2 separate regions of the Homo sapiens genome follow, and region 1 is linked to region 2. Evidence: promoter capture Hi-C in 16 types of primary human blood cells and fetal thymus (Javierre and others, 2016). All regions are on one chromosome and are shown on one strand. The core of a region is centred on a gene start or on the middle of the fragment in contact, and the rest is flanking DNA. Distances in the headings are between cores, read along the strand shown. Region 1 holds the start of PPIG (peptidylprolyl isomerase G). Region 2 holds the start of TTC21B (tetratricopeptide repeat domain 21B).

Region 1 (3,865 bases), core at 877-3,376, 3.6 Mb before region 2:
CAACTTCACACACAATTTTAACAAAGCTGAGTATTTAATTTTCAAGCCCACAGTTGATGGAAGGTGGAGATCAAAATGTCATTTTGCAGGTAGGTGAAGAAACTGAAGCTCAGAAAGATAATTGGGCCAGAAAGTCCAAATTTTTCTAACCTAAGAAGTTTACATACTTATACACTCCTGACAGCAGGAGCACTCCTGACAACTGACTGCCTAGAAAAGCCTTAAAAAGGAAACCAACAATTCAAATGCGCAGAATCCTACTACAAGACCCTATAGGATCTCAGAGCATCAATAATTCTGAATCATAAAGAAATAGTCAAACAATGTACAATGAACTCTTGTTTAAGACACAGAACCATGTAATTTGTTACAGAAATAATTCTGTCCCAACTCGTTAACATAAAAAAAAGGGGAGTGCTAAAACGGGTAAATTTTCAGGATATATTAAAAACAGGAGAGAAGCAGCCATTCTAAATGTATCTTTTCTGGATTTTATAGCACGATTTCAAAATTTATAAAATGTTCACCCCCCCACCCGTCATTGTTACAAAGTAGCAATTACCGGCCATCCTGTTACCAAATGGGAATACACAAAGACAAAAACGTGTGTGTGACCGACACACACACACACTCACTCTTTTTTCCTGGTTTTAACTACTGAAAGTTAATATCAGGCCCCCCTAATTTCTAAAACATCTAATTGTTCTTTGGACAACTATGTTAGTACCAAACTATAAAAGCAAATACTTTTGTATTTGTGTTCACTACTGCAAAATGTTGGTTACACACAGAAAGGGCTATCGTGGAAAGAAATTAAAATCAATGCACAAAATGGTGCTTTTATAGCATTTCCAAAACGATTGTGCATACTCCTTGCCAGCACATCTAGACTTTGCTCCTTAAGACTAAACATGAGCTGGCCGTGCGCGGTGGCTCTCGCCTGTAATCCCAGCACTTTGGGAGGCCGAGGTGGGCGGATCACGAGGTCAGGAGATCGACCATCCTGGCTAACACGGTGAAAACCCGTCTCTACTAAAAACACAAAAAATTAGCCGGGCATGGTGGCACGTGCCTGTAGTCCCAGCTACTTGGGAGGCTGAGGCAGAAGAATCACTTGAACCCAGGAGGCGGAGGTTGCAGTGAGCCAAGATCGCGCCACTGCATTCCAGCCTAGGCGACAGAGCGAGACTCCGTCTCAAAAAAAAAGACTAACCAAGAACCAAATTAGCATACTTCCCCTTCAGGCATACTGAGCCCCGAAATCATCATCTTCCTCCTAAAGAGTAATTATCTCCTCCTAAAAGGCCTGCGCAGCTCACAGCTCCTCCGAAACACGGGGGAACTTCGCGAGAGCTCAAGACCCTGGACTTGAGTTTTAGAAAAATGCTTAACAAAGTGGCCTCTGCCACTTAACTGCACGACAGCCACTGTGCTGTGAGAGGAAAAGGTCGAAAGAGGAGGAAAGCTAGTCTTCAATTTTAATCCCTGTGATTCAGGCTCTTCGCCCGTCACTCTCCAACCCTAGCCTGACAGGACGTCAGGCTGTCTCCCCCTTCCCCACCAGTCCCGCCACCTACCCCGCAACAGTGCTGAGTCTTAGGATTTTGAAGCTTTAAAAATCAACCCGGCTCCCTAGAGTTCAGGCCGCAGTCGCTGCCGCCATGTTACAGCTTGTGCGGCAAAATGCGTCAGTGAGGGAGGTGTGCGCCTGAGTGGGGAGGGCGGGGGCTGGCAGAGGAAGGACCGTCCCCAGGCCCCGGGGCTCGACTGCAAGCCTTCTCCTTCTGCAACAGCGGCAAAGGCACTGCTGCGGTCCTCAGGGACTTCCTCTGGGCCCAAGCAGCCCCGATACCTCGAGGGAAAGACGGTAAACCCAACCCGGTCAGCCGCGCCGGCTCCGCCCCTCTTCCCAGGCCCTTCCCGCTTTCGTACGCAGGGACTGCTGAAATGACGCCGCCAGAACAACTTGAGCCTCATACCACTTACCTGCACCGGTAGAGTTTTCCTCTTCTCTGGGTCCGGTCCTTTGAAGCGCTTCAAATCTACCGCCGCCAGAAAAGGCGCTAAAGCCCGCTAACCGCCTCCCTCCCCCACAACTCAGTCCTGGCATGGAGAGACAGCGTCGCACCGGAAGCGCGTCAGGAGTGGGTTGTCAGCATCGGCCAGCGTTCACCTGCTTGCGTCACCACGCCCTCCTAGGACTTCTAGGATTTTGGTGCCTTTTAAATTCCTAGTTTATAGGTGGCCTAATGCTTTGTGGATGCGTTGACTGGGAACGCTTGTAACCGTTAAAATGCCATATCCTTTGTGAAGTAAAGTGCCTCATTTAATAAACATTTATTGATCTTACGCTAGGTTATCAGAAAGGAAGGCCTACCTTCATGGAGCTTCCAGTTAAGCTTCCACTTAACGCTAGGATATAAGTTCTAAAAACGCAGTAATGAGCAAAGTGTTATTTGAGGAAAGAGGAAGAAATTACAAAGAGCTTTGATGTTCTTTGTTGTTTTACAGATAAAGAAATTGAGGCTCAGGGAAGATAAACGCCTCCTCCTCAAACACACTGTTCTTGAATGCCAAAGCAAGTCTTTTGATGCCAAATCTAGTGCCTTCTAGAGAAAATATGGCATATATTATTTAATTATTTTAAGGGGCAAGGGTCCCCGGATTATGTTAGAAATAAATAACCATTGCTGTTTGGGCGGGGGGGTGGGGGGGGATGGGCAGTGATTCTGGTAGGGATGTGGGGTGTGTTTTAAAGGAACTAGCTAACTAGAGGACTTAAATTGTTCTGTCGTTTAAAGGCAACGTAAATTATGATCATTTAAATTTTTCACTCACTTGCATCAGGTAAATTAATTATCAACAACAGTTAGGCATGTGGTGGTGCTTCTAAGGGGCGTGACCAGTTTTACACAGCAGTAAAACAGAGGACATTTCTGCCTCTCCACCCCCACCTCTTTTAAGTCATTGCCCTTTATTGCAGGAGAGCAGCAGCATATTCATCTTTAGATAGTTCAGAGATTAAACGGATTTACACTTCGCTGTGTGTGGAGGGGACAATTCTGCAATACCTTAAAACAGGGGTCCCCAACCCCTGGGCCACAGACTGGCCTGGCTAATTTTTTGTATTTTTAGTAGAGACAGGGTTTCTCCATGTAGGTCAGGCTGGTCTCAAACTCCCAACCTCAGGTGATCCGTCCTCCTTGGCCTCCCAAAGTGCCGGGATTACAGGTGTGAGCCACCACGCCCGGCCAACGCTTTTCGAAAGAAGACATACTTGCAGCCAACAATCATAATGAAAAAGCTCAACACCACCAATCATCAGAAAAATGCAAATCAAAACCGCAGTGAGATACTATCTCATACCAGTCAGAATGGCTATTATTAAAAAGTCAAAAAATAACAGGTGCTGGTGAGGTTGTGGAGAAAAAGGAACATTTTACAGTGCTGGTGGGAGTTTAAATGAATTCAACTATTGTGGAAGACAGCGTGGCGATTCCTCAAAGACCTAGAGGCAGAAATACCATTTGACCCAGCAATCACATTACTGGGTATATACCCAAAGGAATATAAGTTGTTCTGTTATAAAGACATACACATATGTATGTTCATTGCCACACTATTCACAATAGCGAAGACATGGAGTCAACCTAAATGTCCATCAATGGTAGACTTGATAAAGAAAATGTGGTACATATACTCCATGGAATACTATGCAGCCATGAAAAAGAATGATCTCATGCCCTTCGCAGGAACATGGATGGAGCTGGAGACCATTATCCTTAGCAAACTAATGCAGAAACAGAAAACCAAGTACCACATGTTCTCACTTATAAGTGGGAGCTAAATGATGAGAACACATGAA
Region 2 (3,606 bases), core at 439-2,938:
TGAAGGGTCATGGATATCAGACTCAAAAGTTTGTAGCTAGTAAAAGTGAGCCGATAAAAATGTTACTGCTAAGGAACACATCGATTTTTCAGGAAAGACAAGAGTTTTTCCTGGCCTGAGATCCAAAATAAATTTCTTACATGAGATCTAGTAAGGGCACAGGGCACACCAAGTCACCGTGAGTGTCAAAGCAAATCTCAGAGTACTTTTAATCCAACAAACATTTATGAAACATCAGGCTTGGTGTTTTGTGCTAAATAATTCAACCTTAGAACAGAATTCAGTGAAGAGAATACGAGGCTAAATTAATATGACTTTCAAGATCTCCAAAAGGTAGGTTGATCATCTGTTCTGTTAACCATGATCCTGAGATATTTCCTTACAGATGAACTTTTCTCTTATAACCAAAGGTTTACAGTTCAAGATTATACACTTCATTGAGCACCCTGGTCCTGTGGTATTCTTTGCTGTATACCAAGTGCGGATTAATCCGCAGCTTTGAAAATCAAAGAGATATCACCAGTTGTTCATCACCACAGACATTTAGCTGGACTATAAATATTGGAAAGAAAAAAAAGTTGCTCGTGAAAATACGTGGTGAATTCCTTTAAAGAGAAACCGGTGAGAAATATTGCTTCACCTTAAAGCCTAGGATGGTAGCTACCGTTTTTCTCAAGACTGTCCTTACATAACCTATTGGCATGGGGAAAAAGTCAATGTTTATAAACTCCTTAAGAAACTTAAAATCTGGAAAAGGCAACTACGTATCATGTCAACTAAAGTAAGATAATTAACACTAGGATCAAAATTTGGAATCCACGTGAAAGATTCTGCAAAGATCACTTAAATCTCAGACCTTATGCACTATTTTAAATATTTATTTAAGCAGAAATAGAAAATCTTAGTCTATTATATTTCCATTTAATTTCCTGGACTTAAGAAATCTATGTGTGACTGATTGAGTTGCCTAATGGGGTGCAAACATAAAAATTTGCATTGGGATTCATTTTATTCTCAGTTTAAAATCAGTAGTATCATTGAAAACAAGACACTAATTTTCTGGAAGTTTAATTTATTTGTCCCTCTTATTATCGGGGCTGGTAAAAAAGGGCTAATTGAACACACATTCTAACAAAGATTGCAGCAACGCCTGCAAAGACGGGCCCAAGCGCACCGTATTTCTGTTAAGAACGTGTGATTTTTTTTTTCTGCGCCACCTTGTGGCCGTAAAACAACTTGCCCACGTGAAAGTTGACCGCTTTTTCCCGCGCCGGCAGAGCCTTGCTGAGAGCCGCACTGCGGGAATCCGCCTCCAGACAAACGTGCAGAAAATGGTGTCTTCCTTTACAACCAGTGACAGGAAACAGACTTCCCCTTCTTCATACTCCGTTTCCTTTATTCCTGAATTCCATTTCCTCGGCCCGCCCACCCACTGTCCTCAGACAGCCGTTTCCCAGTGTGACCTCCTTTTCCAGCTGCACTCTCCGGCGGAGGCCCTTTTCCCAGCCCGGACCCTCCCGGGCGGCCCTCGCAGCCCTCACCTCCGGGTCCCCGCCGCCCCTGCTCCATTACAGCACGATCCCCGCCACACAGGCCCGCCTCTCCCTCCGACAGCCAATCGCGGCGCGACCCCGCCCCTCCCGCTGGGGCCCGGGGCGCTAGAGCGCTCCGGGAGGCTAGGGGAGCTGAATTCTGCGTCTTCCTTTAGGCTGCGGCGAGACAATCCCCAGAGCCCCGCGGCCCGGCCTCGGGGCAGCCATGGACTCGCAGGAATTGAAGGTGAGCGGGTGAGCGGGTGAGCGGGTGAGCGGGCGGGCGGGCGGAGTTCCTTTGCGGCCTTTTGGCCCGGGGGCGCGGAGGGAGCTCGGGTGGCTTCGCTAGGCCGCTGTTTCCCTGCGGTGCCCCGGCTGCTCGGGTTGCGGGGTGGGCCTGCAGCCTCTGCTCACGGCCGGTCTCCGCGGGCCCTGCTGGGGAAGCCCAGGTCTGGGCAGCCCGCCCGCTCGGTGTTTCTGAATTGCTGGTCCCCATGCTGTTGGTTGTGTTTACTTTTGTATCATGTTTACTAGGAAAGCTTGGGTTACCTATGACACTGCGCCTCCGGGTGCGATTTTTAAGGACTTAAGGCAAACTAGTGTCAGCTCCCACACTGGACAGTAAAAAGAGCGCAGAAAGATTATATGAAACCCATTAAAGACGTAAGACTTAAAAGTGGAGGGGTCGTTATTTTAGGGTGATGGTCTTCTCTGTTTATCACTGACTCATTCATTCAGCAAATATTAATGACGGTCAACTTAAGAAAGGCTGATATAAAACAGTTAAAGACATGAGGCTTGAAAATAAAATAACTTTTCGGATGTTGGTCTTCTCTATTCATTTGTTCACTGAATCACTCGTTCAGCAAATATTTATGAAGGGTTACTGTATGTCCATTAGAAGCTGGAGATAGCAGTGAGCAAAACTGAACAGTTTCTGCCTTCTCAGATTTTACAGGCTAATTAATGCTGGGGAAAAACCCTAATTCAGTTGACTCAACAAATATTTACTGAATGCCTCCTATGTGTCTAGCACTGTTCTAAGCACTGAAATAATAAAACCAAGAAAAACTCTTCCAATCTTGGAGCTTACATTTGAGTAGGAGGAGTCAGACAACAAGTAGGTAAATGAAATGTGTATCCTGTGAGATGGTGATAAGTGGATGGAGGACAATTTGGCGATGTAGGAGGTTAGGGAATGCTGAAATGTCTTGTTTTTCTGCCTGAAGTTTTACATTATCCTCTGTTCTAGCTATCCCCCTATATCCTTACATTTTTTTATTCCCTTAAATGTATTATTTGCACTGCCACCCAAATGAACATTTTAATAAAAACACTTTAATGTAAAATGTAAAAATGGGCCTCCTCATTACTTAGACTTGAGGTTCAAGTCCAAGTACTTAATATGAGGCTTTTCACCCCACCTTCGTCTCCAACCTCATCATCCAATACTCTCTGTCTCACTTAAGCCTCCAGAGCAGAGAATAGCAAACTTTCTCAACAAAGGGCCAGATAGTACACATTTTAGACTTTATGGACCGTATGGTCTATCACATCTAATTGGCTTGTTCAAAACAGCCATAGACAATACTTAAATGAGCATGGCTGTGTTTCAATAAAACTTTATTTATGAACACTGAAATTTGACTTTCATGTAATTTTCATGTTATGAAATATTTCTTTTTTTTCCTTGACAGCTGGAAAATATAAAAACCATTCTTAGTTCACTGGCTGTACAGCCAGCCAGCCAGATATGGCCCACAGAGTGTGGTTTGCCAAACCCTGCTCTAGAGTATGGAGTGGCTTTTAGTCATCTTCATCACCACTGCCATCCCAATGTACCATTGATGACTTGTTATCTGTGTTGTTGCAGTTCCTCTTCCTAACTCCTGTACCTTCCTCAAGAATCATGAAAAGGAAATAGGAAGAGCGTGTACGTGTGTGGAGGGAGAATGAGGGGTTTGCAATTCAAGAGTCAGCTCTGAAATCCTCCCCAATAATCTTTCCCTTGATTTTAGTCATCCATCCTCCCCTCACACCACATTCAGTTTTCAATGCTGTCAAAATGTTGCTA

What was found. Contacts are between HindIII fragments. The CHiCAGO score rates a contact against its expected background, and 5 or more counts as called.
Region 1: a contact is called between the fragment with the promoter of PPIG here and the fragment with the promoter of TTC21B in region 2, in 2 of 17 cell types (non-activated CD4 T cells and total CD4 T cells). The highest score is 7.6, in non-activated CD4 T cells.

The regions. Positions count from the first base shown.
Region 1 is chr2:169,582,612-169,586,476 of GRCh38, reverse strand. It overlaps PPIG (peptidylprolyl isomerase G), which reads right to left and starts at 2,126. Exons shown (of 14, transcript NM_004792.3): 1 at 1,987-2,126. RefSeq lists an enhancer at 2,161-2,210. The HindIII fragment of the contact is 789 bases long and covers 1,613-2,401 here.
Region 2 is chr2:165,951,858-165,955,463 of GRCh38, reverse strand. It overlaps TTC21B (tetratricopeptide repeat domain 21B), which reads left to right and starts at 1,688. Exons shown (of 29, transcript NM_024753.5): 1 at 1,688-1,779. The coding sequence starts at 1,759. RefSeq lists an enhancer at 924-1,673 and a silencer at 1,438-1,837. The HindIII fragment of the contact is 9,565 bases long and covers 1-2,073 here.